2 separate regions of the Homo sapiens genome follow, and region 2 is linked to region 1. Evidence: promoter capture Hi-C in 16 types of primary human blood cells and fetal thymus (Javierre and others, 2016). All regions are on one chromosome and are shown on one strand. The core of a region is centred on a gene start or on the middle of the fragment in contact, and the rest is flanking DNA. Distances in the headings are between cores, read along the strand shown. Region 1 holds the start of DNAAF9 (dynein axonemal assembly factor 9). Region 2 overlaps ATRN (attractin).

Region 1 (7,616 bases), core at 2,492-4,991:
CAGGTGACTGGCTTCATTTTCTCTTGAACCCACTGCACCAAAACTGTTCTTGTCAAGGTCACTAGTGACCCTCCACATTATCGAATCTAATTGTCTATTATTAGTCCTTTTGTTTTCTTGAGATGGAGTTTCACTCTTGTTGCCCACACTGGAGTGCAATGGCAAGATCTTGGCTCACTGCAACCTCCACCTCCCAGGTTCAGGTGATTCTCCTGCCTCAGGCTCCCGAGTAGCTGGGACTACAGGTGCCTGCCACCATGCCCAGCTAATTTTTTTGTGTGTATTTTTAGTAGAGGTGGGGTTTCACCATGTTGGTCAGGCTGGTCTCAAACTCCTGACCTCAGGTGATCCACCCACCTTGGCCTCTCAAAGTGCTGGGATTACAGGCGTGAGCCACCGTGCCCAGCCTGATTACTAGTTCTCATCACACTGTCAACAATCTCATTCGGCTTTCAATGTCTGTTCTCAATTATTCTCCCACCTCAGAGGTAGGAAACCATTTTCTCTCAGAACTTGGAAGACACTGCTACACTGCCTTTTCTTCTTCTAGTGTTCTTAATACTAATAAATGGCAACTCCATTCTTTCAATAGCTGAGGCAAAAACCGACTAGGCCTTCTTGTATTATTGTTCTTTCGGCCGTATTTCTTCCTCAGTACTTATGACTCACTATTCTATATTATGATTTCTACTGTTACTGTCTCTTCCCCTTTACAAAAGAGTTATTTGAGGGCAGGGGACTGCTGTATTTATCTGACTCTACAGCACCTAACAGAGTACTTGTTGCATAATTTATATAAATAAACAGTGAAATTTAAACTATTAAAGAAGTTTCAAGCAGGAACAGATCGCTCTACAGAAAAACATTTTGAAGTAGAAAGTATCTTTCAGCTAGATTTCCACTGGTTCCTTAGCATTGATCCAGATAGGTTAGTTTATACCTTGGTAATAAGTCCAAAATCCCGGTGGTGTTTCACTTCTTGCTCAACCTACCTGTCAAGCATAGGTCACCTGGAAGCTAGCTCTGGGGCCTTGACTGATGGGTGGCTGCCATTTGCAGCCCCAACAGCTACCATGACAGAAGGAAAGAGAATGGAAAACTACACAACAGAAATTTGTACCATGAAAGGCTACACAGTATTCCCACGCATTTCACTGACCAAAAGCAACTCTTAAGGCCATACCTAACTTCAAAGAAGCAAGCAAGTAAAATTCTACTACATGCTCAAGAGACAGAAACCAAAAATACCTGGTAAGACTGATGACTATCACATGCTTAAAGAGAAGCCTCTCATTCTGAGTAACAATATTTTAATTCTTGATCTCCATTCTCCATCTGTGAAAATGAACTACCGTGCTAGAACCATACACTTGCAGAGTACTATCTATGGGTCTTAGGAATGTCACTTCACCAGTTAGGTTTGCCCCTTCCATCACTCAGCAGTCAGCAGCAAAGCCATATATGGGTGACAGGAAAGTGCTAGTAACATTCAATGTCAAGAGTAAGGGAAAGGCTTGAATGGGCAAGAAAAGCACGTTCAATCATGTAGAAGTGGGGAAAGGAGGGAAGCCTTCAGCAAATTTCTTTCACCAAAGGTATTGGGGGCAGCTAGGCCTTGGGGTTCCTTGCACTATTCCTTGTCTGAAATCAAATTTTATTCAAACCACTTGATAGAAGATTTGGAGTTCGGGTATGATCAGTAAAGTGAGCCAGCATACTTCTTTGAACATAGAATCACTACCTTTAAAAGAATAAATAAAAAGCACATGGCCATGCTACTAAAAACAAGAAAGGCAGCATTTAAGAGACAGATTCTAAGGTAGAGATGATTTTTTTCCCCCTAAAGATCTCAACAGACTCAAATCCAAATTCCTAAGCTCAAGATGATCTGGGATAAACCTCAAGTCCACACAGAGCCTAGATTTAACGGATGGCTGTTCTAAAGTATCCTATGCAATGTCTATACAAGTTCAAATACTTTCTGCTTCAGACAGTGAAACTGGCAGAAATGTTGCAAAGGATTGGAGATGCGTTACTATAAGCAGTTAAACTTGGAACTGTAAAGCCCACAAGGAATTACACTGAAGGGCAGAGCAGGAGTTCAAAAATGTCACCTGACAGATTCGAAGCAATTTAGGACTCCTAAATGCAATGTTTCATTGGTATCTACCCCCCACCTTCTCTATCCTTTATTTGTTCAACAAACATATACTGGATTCTGGGTTGTGGAAAGGAATGCAGGGAAGTAAAAAAGAAACAGGTTTCTAAGAATCAGTTTCTTGTTCTCCAATAATTTGGTCTAGTTAAAGCAAACAAACAACCCCAAAAATCAGATCAGCAAGCAAAGTTAAAACATATGCCTTAAGTACCATAACAAGAATATAAGAAAACTGTTTTAACATGTAGATTGGCAACCTCCTTTCAAGGGAACAATATATTTGCTTTGCTATGTGGCTAGAATAAGAAAAAGCAAACAACAACAAAACCCTCTCCTGTTTTAATGACAGTTTAGCAGTACCAAAGCTCATCGCTCGCATTCCCCCTCTCCCTCTCCTTCTCAAAGGTCTCTGCTGCAACCCCTCCATCATTCCAACCTCCACACTGCGCCGGCGCCCCACACCAGCTCCATCACAAACAATGCCCAGACCAACAAGATCAGCACCAAACGCATAGGGCACAGAAATCGGAAACGGATCTTCCTATATCTAAAGGGGGCGGGGAACGCTCCCCACGATCACCCCCTCCCCATACTGAGGTAGCTTGGGACTGTGTCTCTACGGTAAGGGGCCTGGCGTCCGCCGCTTTCGGAGGTTCTAGGCCTCTTTCCCCTATTTATCCAGTTTTTCCTCCTGCGTCCCTAATACCTCTACTTCCTCCCAACCCGAGCTCCCTATTGTGGAGTGAGGGGGCGTCGCGATGCAGGCTGAGGCAGGGGGAGCTGGGGAAACGCGCGACAGGGGAGATGCTGTCATTATGTACGTAGGGGGCGGGGGACACTCTTTAAGGAAGCCGTTGTCAAGGGCAAAGGCTCTAGAGACCCACGGGAGGGGGCTTTCTAGGTAATCCATTTGGGGGTTCTACACGAGGGAGCTATTGTGTGTGTGGAGGTGTGAGGTCTGTAGAGTAGCAGTTTCTGAGGGAAACATTCCCTGGGGAAGGCGAGTGAGTTATTCATAGGGAAGCCTCTGTGGGGTTCTGTGTAGAAGAATCCTTCCTGGGAGAAACGTTCTATGGGGGTGAGGACGTCATAACAGTGTCTTCACAGGGAATCGCTGTCCCTAGGGAAGCCATTGTGGGGAAACCGTTGCAGGGTTGTCTGTGGGGGAGCCATTGTGGGGAAACCGTTGCGGGGTTGTCCAAAGGGGAGCCATTGTGGGGCCTCTACAGAGGGCGCCGTTCCTGGGAAAAATTCCTCCCTGAGCCGTTCAGCAAAGAACCGTCCCGAGGAAGCCATGTCGGACCACGCCCTGCGGCGGGAGGCGTCGCCGGACCCCGACAGCCCGCATCCCCCGCCCGGCCGCCCCTCGGCTGCCTCTGCCCCGCGTACCTGACGGAGGGTGACCCGCGGCTGGAGCCGCCAGGGGACCGAGCGCGGGGCAGCCCCTGCCGGCGCGGGGGGTACACGTCCATGGCGGCGGACGACTGGCGGCGGAGGAGGACGGTGCAGCTGCGAGGGTCTCAGTTGCCCGCAGGGCGGCTCCACGCTAGCTGCGGCCGGGCGGGGCGGCAGGGCGTGCCGGGTGGGAGGGGGCGCGGCGCGCGGGCCCGGCGGGGGCGGGGGCGGGGGCGTGGAGGGGGCGCGCGCACCGAGAGCGGATGGGGGCGTTGGGAGCGGCTGGAGTTGGGGGTCGGCGCACGGCCACAGGGACCCCACTTCTTAAGCTGCGAGGCCGCCGGACCGGATGTTGGGAGCGCGTGTCCGCAGGGTGAGGGTTGCCACAGCGCCGCCCGGCCTCGTCCTCAAGCCCGGCATCATAGAGCGGGGCTCTGCGCGGCGCCCCCCGGCCACGCACACGGACGCGCCCGGGGGCGGAGCCTCTCCCAGCCCGGCCCCGCCCCTCCGCCTCTGCCCGCCCCGCCCCGCCCGACCAGCCCCGGCCTCCAGCGAAGTCTTCCGCTCCGGCGTCAGGATCCAGCGCACCTCCCCAGTACCCAGCGCACCTCCCCAGTACCCGGCTCGCTTCCCTGTTCTCCGGAACGGTGTCTTCCCGCTTCCTGGTCATCAATTCCGCACCCACCCTTCAAACATCCAATAGATTCCTAGCCGGCCTCGGGTTAGCGCAGCAGTGCGCACCCAGCCCTGCGCAGGGCATGAGCGTTAGAGGCGCACAGGATCCCAGAAGACCCCTAACCTTTACTGTTAAGATCCTAGCTCTACCGGTTTCTGCAGGGACATGTACAAGAAACTTGGGAAATACTGCACTGATAGTTGCCAGGAGTCCTGTATATACAGGACGTATTTAATGATTATTGGCCTGCGTCCTTCGTTGACCTCGTCGGAATGCCTTAAATGTCCTGTATTCATCTTTTTACACTAAATTGCAATAATTAGAGCTATTTTTCTCCCACAGTAATTGGTGCTAGATCACTTAAATTACAACACTGGCTGAAAATCCTTCCTACACTAATGAAGATTTGGACAATCCCTATGGTGTCTCCTTCAGGTTTGGCTGAGGGAAGACCAGAAGGGAGTAGGAATTTAAAGTGCTCGTCTTTCATATTCAAGAAAGGAAAATACTTTTTTAGCTCAAGTCCGGAGTCGTGAACAAATAACCACCATTATTTAGAGATAACTTCTCGTCGGTGCAGCAGCTCTGAAAATCAGCCAATCAGCGATAGCCTCACTCCGGTAACTATGCTTCTTAGTAAATCAATGACAACCCCACGCTTCTGAAAGTCAGCCAATCAGTGACCGCTCTAAGCCTCCGACAATAGCCAATCAACAAGTGCCTGACACCAGCGACCAGGCTTCCGAAAGTCAGTGGGTACTCAGCTGCCGCACTCCACTTCTGATTCGGAAAGACAGCCAATCCCTGAAGGCGAATATTTCCAAAACCATTTTTTTTTCTTTCCCAGACTGAGTCTCATTCTGTCGCCCAGGCTGGAGTGCAGTGGCGCGATCTCGGCTCACTGCAACCTCTGCCTCCCGGTTCAAGCGATTCTCCTACCTCAGCCTACCGAGTAGCTGGGATTACAGGCTCCCGCCACCACGCCTGGCTCATTTTTGTATTTTTAGTAGAGACGGGTTTTGCCATGTTGGCCAGACTGGTCTCAAACTCCTGACCTCAGTTGATCCGCCTGCCTTGGCCTCCCAAAGTGCTGGGATTACAGGCCTGAGCCATCGCGCCCGGCCTTTTTTTTCTTTTTCTCCTTTTTTTTTGGAGACAGAGTCGCACTCTGTTGCTCAGGCTGGAGTGCAGTGGCGTGATCTCAGATCACTGCAACCTCTGCCTCCTGGTTCAAGCGATTCTTGTGCCTCAGCTTCCCAAGTAGCTGGGATTACAGGCCTGTGCCACCAAGCCTGGCTAATTTTTTGTATTTTTAGTAGAGACAGAGTTTCGCCATGTTGGCCAGGCTGGTCTTGAACTCCTGGCCTCAAGTGAATCGCCAGCCTTGGCCTCCCAAAGTGCTGGTATTACAGGCGTGAGCCGCGCCCGGCCTTCAAAACCTTTTATAAGATCAGCTCTGGCTTTGTTCAGAGAGGCTGTACCTTACAAGTACCGCTCTCCCTTGCAAGCAGAGAAGAAATTCACTTTTTTTTTGCATCAGATATTGAGTTCAATTTATTGTTTTGTCCGAGTTCAAAGTTCACAGCTCAAGATTCAATTCCCAGTTACTATTTGGTATGAGTTTGGACTTATGACAGACGCTATGACACCGTCATGAGATTTATCAAATACAACTCTTTCAATTCTTTCTATGCTTGCAGTGATCAATTTTTTAGCTCAAGTCCAGAGTCATGAACAAGTAACCACCATTATTTAGAGATAACTTCCCATCGGTGCAAAAGCTCTGAAAATCAGCTCTAAAAACAATTCAACGGGGCTACACGTGGTGGTGCACGCCTGCAGTCCCAGCAATTTGGGAGACTAAGACAAGTGGATTTCTTGAGCCCAAGAGTTTGAGACCAGCCTGGGCAACGTGGCAAAACCTCATCTCTCTGTCTCTCTCTCTCTATATATATATAGTTTATTTATAAAAATATATATTTATATTATAATTTATGTATACAAATATATTTCATATATGCACACACACACAAATTGGCCAGGCATAGTGGCATGTGTCTGTAGTCGCAGCTATTCAGGAGACTGAGATGGGAGGATCGCTTGAGCCTGGGAGGTCTAGGATGCAGTGAGTTAAGATCAGGCCACTGCACTCCAGCATGGGGGACTGAGTGAGACCCTGTCTCAAAAAAAAAAAAAAAAATCAATGAGTATAGGCACAGATTTGTGCAACCACCACCACAATCAATTTTAGAACATTTTTATCACTCCAACAGGAAAATCCTGTACCTATTAGCAGTCATTCCTCCATTTCTTCCCAACCACCCCAGCCCTAGGCAACCACTAACCTTTTAATTTGCCTATTCTGGACATTTCATGTTATCAGCATCATTCAATATATGGTTTTTCATGACTGGCTTCTTCCATTTAGCATAATGTTTATAAGGTTCATCCATGTTGCAGCATGTATCAGAATTTTGTTCCTTTTCATGGTTGAATATTATTACATTGAATGGATATACCACATCTTGCTTATCCATTTATCTGTTAATGAACAGTCAGATTGTTTCCACTGTTTTGCTATGTTTTGTAGCTAATGCTATTATTAACATTTGTGTACAAGTTTTTTTGTGGACACACAGTTTGTTTCCTTGGCGATCTAGGAGTGGGTTTCTGGATCACATGGTAACTCTACGTTTAACCTTTTGAGGAACTGCCAAACGGTTTTCCAAAGTGGCTGCACCATTTATATTCTCACCAGCATCATATGTGGGTTCTAATTTTTCCATATCTTCCCTAATACTCATTATCTTTTTCACTATAGCCATTTTAGAGGGTATGAAGTGGTATCTCATTGTGGTTTTGGCTTATATTTCCTGATAGCTAATGATGTCAAGCATCTCTTCATGTGCTTATTAGCCATTTGGACCTCCTCCTTTTTTTTTTTTTTTTTTTTTTTTTGAGACGGAGTTTCACTCTTGTTGCCCAGGCTGGAGTGCAATGGCATGATCTCAGCTCAACGCAACCTCTGCCTCCCGGGTTCAAGCGATTCTCCTGCCTCAGCCTCCCGAGTAGCTGGGATTACAGGCATGCGCCACCGCGCCCAGCTAATTTTGTATTTTTAGTAGAGACGGGGTTTCTCCATGTTGGTCAGGCTGATCTCAAACTCCCGACCTCAGGTGATCTGCCCACCTCAGCCTCACAAAGTGCTGGGATTACAGGCATGAGCCGCCGTGCCTGGCCTATACCTCTTCTTTGGAGGAATGTCTGCTCGAATTTTTTGACCATTTTTACTTGGTTACTTGTCCTTTTATTATGTTGTGGTAGCTCTTTATATAGTCTAGATATAAGTACCTTATCAGAAATACAATTTGCAAAAATTTTATCCCA
Region 2 (7,616 bases), core at 1,958-4,457, 160 kb after region 1:
AAACATTCTTGGCTGGGCGTGGTGGTTCATGCCTGTAATCCCAGCACTTTGGGAGGCCCAGGTGGGCAGATCACGAGGTCAGGAGATTGAGACTATCCTGGCTAACACGGTGAAACCCCATCTCTACTAAAAATAAAAAAAATTAGCCAGGCATGGTGGCAGGCGCCTATAGGCCCAGCTACTTGGGAGGATGAGGCAGGAGAATGGCGTGAACCTGGGAGGAGGAGCTTGCAGTGAGCTGAGATCACACCACTGCACTCCAGCCTGGGTGACAGAGCGAGACTCTGTCTCAATTCTAGTGCATCAAACTGATAGGCAGTTGGGTGAGTGATCCAGATGTCATGGATTTCGGGTGCGTTTGCTAGTTAGAATTGTGGTATGATCCCGCCTTTCTTCCATGCCCTGTTGCTCTGCTGCTGCTTCATTTTAACCCAGAAATGATGTTGTAACTGAGAAAATTGAGAGGCATGTTTTATGAGGTTCTCTTTGTTGTAGTATTTTTCCCAAAGAAAATGTCAGGTCCTGTTGATTAGAAATGGTAGTCCGTTTAAAAATATATTTTTCTTTCTCCTAGCCTGTGACCGCTGGTCAGTGCTTCCCAGACCTGATCTCCACCATGATGTCAACAGATTTGGCCATTCAGCAGTCTTACACAACAGGTAATTGGAGAAGTGATTGCTCCTTTTCTTTTGTGTTTAAAATGAAAATAAAGGGCCGGGCACGGTGGCTCACGCCTGTAATTCTGGCACTTTGGGAGGCCGAGGCGGGTGGAATACGAGGTCAGGAGATCAAGACCATCCTGGCCAACATGGTAAAGACCCATCTCTACTAAAAGTACAAAAATTAGCTGGGCTTGGTAGTGCGTGCCTGTAATCCCCCCTAGTTGGGAGGCTGAGGCAGGAGAATCGCTTGAACGAGGGATGCTGAGGCAGGAGAATCACTTGAACCAGGGAGTTGGAGGTTGCCGTGAGACGAGATCGCGCCACAGCACTCCAGCCTGGCAACAGAGCAAGACTCTGTCTCAAAAAAAAAAAAAAAAAAAAAAAAGAGAAAAGTAAAGTGGAATTGGACTCAACATATTATTCACAAGATTCCCTCATCCCAGTAGTTTTTTTACAGGATTATGTGGGTATAAATTTTCTGATTTATGTTTAAAATATTTGATGTGGAGGTGAATTACTTTGAATGCCATGTTTATTGATCTGGTTTTGTTAGCACGCAAGAGCATGCTTTTTGGTGTGGTCTGAGTGCCTGGGGCAACAAAAGTTACGTGCATGTCATTGTCTTATGTCCTTTGTTATTGTTAGTGGTATTTAGGTTGTCAAGTTCCTAGTAGTTGTATCTGAATAGTAAGAAGTTTGGAAAAGAGGAGAGAGGGCACTTCAGATGGGGGGATAAGGTAGGAGAACAGAGGTGGAGAGATTGTGAAGTTTAATATAGCTCAAGTCTGTAGGCTCTGGATAATCAGAAGTCTGCAGTTCATTGCATTTTATCGCTCAAAAATGCCTGGCCCAAACTACCAGAGCTCTTCAAAAAATCGGCCCTTGGAGAAGTCTCAGTCAAATAAGGGAGATTCAGAGTGGCCACTCTACTTGTTCCTTACAGTGTGCTTTAAAGATTTTTAAGAAGTTAAACAGCCTAATCACATTATTAATTTTTCTCATTCAGTTTCTGCTATTACTACTGCTGTCTACTTTCCCTTTTTTAAAATTCTAAGCCATATAAATCCTAAGGATGTTTAAGCGTTATAATGCCTGCATCATGTTAGAATTCCTTTGGCTTTTGAAATTTCTGTTGTAACGATGGAAGACAGATGAGGTAATTTCACTTAGATTAGGAAAGATGAGAGGCCGGGCACGGTGGCTCACGCCTGTAATCCCAGCACTTTGGGAGGCCGAGGAGGGCCGATCACTTGAGCCCAGGAGTTCCAGACCACCCTGGTCAACATGGCAAAACCCCCGTCTCTTCCTAAAATACAAAACAATTAGCCAGGTGTGGTGGTAGGCACCTGTAGTCCCAGCTACTTGGGAGGCTGAGGCAGGAGAATCACTTGAACCCAGGAGGCGGAAATTGCAGTGAGCCAAGATTATGCCACTGCATTCCAGCCTGGGCGACAGCGAGACTCCATCTCAAAAAAAAAAAAAAAAAAAAGGAAAAGTGAGAAGGTGACATATTTTGGAGATGTTGTGAAGGAAGAGTTGAGACAATTTAGGAACTAGCTACTAGGAAAAGGTGCTATCTTATATAAGGTAATTATTTCGTTTTTTAGCAATGTGTATGGTTTTACTATGAGAACATTTGACAGCTAGAGACTAAAATGGAAGGATTTCTGGCCACCTTGCTAATTTGAAGTGTTATTATAAATCATAATCTTGAACTTCCTCAGTACAGAAGACCCTTAAAGCTTTCTAGCAAGTGCCTCTTGAGATTTTCATCTGAAACGCAGTGGGACCATTTTGTCATTATCATGCCTGTGGGAGCCTGGCCTCAACTGTCTTCGTTTGTGTTCCTAGTTCTCCTAGCACAGGATTTGGCACATAATAGACATTTGCTAAATGGCAGGTATTAGTACAGTCATAACTAGCAAACAAATGAATTTTTTATAAAACATTCTTAGGTTTTATTCAAACTCAGAGAAGTTGAGACTTTACCATAAAATATAATTTAATCATGAGTCAAAATTGGGAATGCCTTGCCTGAGTTGTAATGTTTTCATTTTATGTGATTCCAGTGGTATGTTTGAACCCTGATATGTAAGTATCTGTGTGTGTGAGACAGGATTGGGTAGGTGGCAGGAGACCCTGAGGGAGGCCAGCTACTAAAAGGCCATAGTTTTGGTTTAATTTTATGAAATAATTTACTGAAAAAGAAACTTCGATTCACAGCATTTCTTCATGCTTTAAGTGGATCAACAGCATTGGGTGAGCTGTGCCTTCCTTGGTTTTCATTGAGGTTTTGAGGGAGGCAGGAAGGAGGAGGAGAGATGGCTGTGACATACCAAGGCGGCAGGAGATGCAGCTGTGCCTCTCAGTTGCCTGCTCCATGTGTCTCTGAGAGACTCTCCCTAACTTTGCAGAGCCCCTGTGCAACCAGATGGATTCACAATTGCTGAGAACACCAACTGTACTGGGAAGAGGAGGTTGCTTATTTGGTTTAAGCAACAAATTAACTAGTTGAATCTAGCCTGCTTAATGTGGTACTGAGTAAGCCTATAGCAAGGTAAAAAATGAAACCTGGCCGGGCGTAGTGGCTCACGCTTGTAATCCCAGCACTTTGGGAGGCCGAGGCGGGTGGATCACGAGGTCAGGAGATCAAGACTATCCTGGCTAACACTGTGAAACTCCATCTCTACTAAAAGTACAAAAAAATTAGCTGGGCGTGGTGGCGGGCGCATGTAGTCCCAGCTTCTCGGGAGGCTGAGGCAGGAGAATGATGTGAACCCCAGGAGGTGGAGCTTGCAGTGAGCTGAGATCGCGCCACTGCACTCCAGCCTGGGCAACAGAGCGAGACTGTGTCAAAAAAAAAAAAAAGAGAAAGAAACCTTATATTAATTTTTTAGTTTTTGAAATCTACCAGTAAATATTTCAGATTAGGCCAGGCATGGTGGCTCATGCCTGTTATCCCAGCACTTTGGGAGGCTAAGGCAGGAGGATCACTTGAGCCCAGGAGTTTGAGGCTGCAGTGAGCTATGATGACGCCACTGCACTCCAGCCTGGGTGACAGAGTGAGACCCTAACTCAAAAAAAATATATTTCAGATAACAATTTGTTTTCATTTTTCACAACTCTATAAAGTAACTATAAACACTGAATTCTTGAATATTGAATTATTGCTCCTAGGGGAAATACAGGGTTATGTTTCTATAAACCTCTGATGACATTTTCATCAACCAGTCAGCATACATAACTTTCTTTTATGTGTGTTTCTATTTAAAAACATCTTGTTGAATATATATTCTTGATTTATTAACATTGAGCTCACAGCCAACAGCACTTTAACTCATGCCTGAACAAAGCTTATGTAACACACGTATTTTCTCAGTAAGGCTCGTCACAGCCTTCTTACACTTAGGAACACTAGACAGCACTTCAGCACTGCATAGGGGGCCATTTTCAGCAGTGAAAGCACTAACATAAGGCACAAAAATGCATAAAACATGGCACTAGATACATCATGGAAGGGACACTTGTTTGTAGTATGATAGTTGAAACAAGAAGGGAGAGCATCTCCTTGTTTGACCTTAGCCGGTAATATGCATGTGTGTCAACTCAAATTTTTTGCCATTCTTTGCACACACATGCTGGTAAATGACCATGAAACTACTGCAAGTATTGATTTTGGAATTAGAAATAGATTTTATAAGTACGTGAATTTGCAAATATGGAATCTACAATCTGCAGATATGGTCATGTGTCACTGAATGATAGGGATACATTCTGAGAAGTGCATCCTTAGGCAATTTCATCATTGTGCCAACATCACAGAGTGTACTTACATAAACTTAGGCTACACATCTAGGCTATATGGTATGGCTTGTTGCTCCTAGCTACAAGCCTGTGCAGCATGTTACTATACTCAATACTGTAGGTCATTGTAATGCAATGTAAGTATTTGTGTGTCCAAGCATATCTAAACATAGAGAAGGTACAGTAAAAATGCAATATAAAAGATAAAAAAATGTACACCTGTACAGGCCACTTACTATGAAGAGAGGGAGCATACAGGACTGGAAATTGTTCTGGGGAGGTCTGTGAGTGAGTAGACTGTACACTACTGTAGACTTTGTGAACTGTACACTTAGGCTACACTAAATTTATTTTAAAATTGTTTTCTTCAATAATAAATTAACCTTAGATTACTAGATGACAACCATTGTACATGCCATCCATCATTGATGGAAACATCGTTATGCAGGACCACATACATGACTATAATGAGGATTGGCTGTCTTTTAAAGATGAAGACTTAATTTTTAAAACACAACCCCTATGCAGTTATTACACTTTTATTCTTTAAGCCAGGGGTGGTGGCTCACGCCTGTAATCCCAGCGCTTTGGGAGGCCAAGGCAGGAGGATTGCTTGAGTCCAGGAGTTCAACACCAGCCTGGGCAACACAGCAAGACCTCATCTCTACTAGAAATACAAAAATTAGCTGGTCATGGTGGTGCGTGCCTGTTGTCCCAACTACTCAGGAGGTTGAGGTGGGAGGATTGCTTGAGCCCAGGAATTTGAGGTTGCACTGAGCTATGATGGTGCTGTTGCACTCCAGTCTGAGTAATGGAGCAAGACTCTAACTCAAAAAAAAAAAAAAAGTTGTTCTTTAATATCTCTCAGTGTCCATTCAGTGTTTACATCTCCTAATTGTCTCAATTTTTTTTTTAAGTTTAGTTTGTTCAACTCAGAATCCAAATAAGATCCATATGTTACAATTGGTTAAAATGTCTCTGAAGTTTCTCTTGATCTGTAGGGACCCCATCCATCATTTTCCCCCTTACTTGTTAAAGAGACTGGGTTGTTTGTCCTGTAGAGTTTCCCGTAGTCCAGATTTTGATTATTGTATCCTGGGCTTTCATATAACATATTGGTCTCTCTCCTAAACTTCCTACAAATTAACTTGATCAGATTCACTTCAGTATTTTGGCAAGATCACTTCATAGGTTTATTTCTTTCCCTTTGTTTACCAATCTTCAAAATAATGTAGTGATTTCTTAGTATTGTCCAAAGATGACAAATTAGGTTGTTTTTTTTTTTCAGGGGATGGGAGATGTGTATCATTATGAACTCATGGATTTAAAAATATTTCATGTGTTTTAATCTATTGTAGTTTGTGTTTTTATTAAATTTCAAACATTTTCCATCTTTAGCCAGTGAGGGCATCTTTACATTAGCTTTTGAGTTTATCTGATACTACCCTCGTTTTCTTTTCTTCCCAGTATAACAAGATCTGCTAGACTCATTGTGAACATTTCTTCATCCAGACATGAAATTAGGTTTTTCTCTAAAAAGTTCTAGTTTTTAAGGGGTGACAGGAGGGAGAAAGAATGGTTTTTAAATACGCACAATCTAAGCACTAGTTGTATTCATTGCTCCTGGGTTGGCTGTTGTTTCTAGGTTTTTTAAGAAGGCAGGTTAAAGAGAAACTGTGGTGTTCTTCTTTTTAAAAAGGAAAATGAATTATTTGTGCACGTTTGTGTGTTTGACCTTCTAGTTCCCTCAATAGATAAATGGCTACATTGTTTGAATACTTTTCTCTGCGTTCCATTTTTTCCCCCACATAGCAGTATATACTGGTGCTCACTCCATAGAAGTATGTAGAAATTTTCCTCATTCCTTTTACATCTGCCTAATATTTCATTATGTGGATGTATTATAGTTTGTCACATCCCCAATTGATGGACATTTGGGGCTGTTTGAGTCTTTTGCTATTATTAACCCATTTATGCCTAGTGTTCCATTATTGGAACGCTAAGCTTGTGGGAGTTATTTATATCCTGCTGCTCAAGGTCATCCCCAAGGTCTGATTTTTCACAAAAAAATTTGCCCTCTGGCATAAGTGGGTTAATGCTGTAGTGAATAGCCTCATGTACTTCTTTTTGTATTTTTGCTATTCTATCTTTGTGCTAGACTTCTAGAAATGTGATTTCAGGTTCAAAAAGTAAATGCAAAGTTTTGTTAGAGCTTGCCAAATCCCTCTGTAGGCTGCATCATTTTACATGCCCAGCAGTAGTGTGTGAGAGTGCCTTTTGCCCCATAGTCTCACCAATCCATATATTGTCAATTTTTTGTGCTTTTTTTTTTTTTTTGCTAGTCTTATAGGTGAGAAATGCTACCTCAGTATAGTTTTAATTTGCATTTTTCTTACACTGAAATTAGAGCATCTTCTCATATGTTTAAGGTCATTTGCATTTTTTTCTCTGCAAACTGGCTGAAGCCCCGCTCTATGTTAGGGATAGTCCTTTTCCTATAACATAACTTGTAAATCTTTTTTTCATAGCATATCATTTGTTTTTTTACTTTGCTTATAGCATTATTTCCATGTAAAACGTCTTTTTAATTCATATGACCAGATTTTTCAATCTTCTTTTCCCCTACCTTCTGGATTTTAAGTCAGTTTTTTTTCACTCTTAGGTTATAGAGAAATTCACCCATTCTTCTACTGCTTGTGTGTTTTGTTTTTCTCAGAAGATGCTCTAATCCATGTGGAAATTATCCCAGAATGTAGAGAAATAGATTCAATTTTATTTTTTTCCATATGTTTAGTTATCTTGATACCATTTACTAAAAAGAACATCTTTTCCCACTAATGTAAGATGCCACTTTTACTGTGTACTAAATGTACATGTGTGCTTTTATCTGTTTATGATTGGGCTCATATTCATGTACCAGTATGACACAACTTTAATTACAGAGGCTTTTACCTGTGCTTTAAATTTGTACATTTTTATTTTTAATATTTAAAAAATGAAGATATAGAATTGCTGTTTAGCATTAAAAGATGTGAGCATATCCTGACACTAAAATTTTCCAGTGACTCATGGTTAAAAGTCAGCAGGCTATCATGAGAACTTTTTAATACAGTAGCTATGACGAGGAGGCAGATTATTGGAACTATTCTG

Evidence for each region. Contacts are between HindIII fragments. The CHiCAGO score rates a contact against its expected background, and 5 or more counts as called.
Region 2: a fragment that was not itself captured here is called in contact with the fragment with the promoter of DNAAF9 in region 1 in 2 of 17 cell types (M1 macrophages and M2 macrophages); the score reaches 5.5 in M1 macrophages.

Annotation. Positions count from the first base shown.
Region 1 is chr20:3,403,928-3,411,543 of GRCh38, forward strand. DNAAF9 (dynein axonemal assembly factor 9) reads right to left here and starts at 3,742. Exons shown (of 37, transcript NM_001009984.3): 1 at 3,548-3,742. The coding sequence starts at 3,630. RefSeq lists silencers at 3,406-3,485, 3,546-3,785, 3,826-4,075 and enhancers at 4,066-4,265, 4,642-5,143. The HindIII fragment of the contact is 11,473 bases long and covers 1-7,616 here.
Region 2 is chr20:3,564,774-3,572,389 of GRCh38, forward strand. It overlaps ATRN (attractin), which reads left to right. Exons shown (of 29, transcript NM_139321.3): 11 at 575-659. Among named protein-coding and RNA genes, the nearest start is that of GFRA4, 95 kb to the right of the region's middle. The HindIII fragment of the contact is 1,611 bases long and covers 2,403-4,013 here.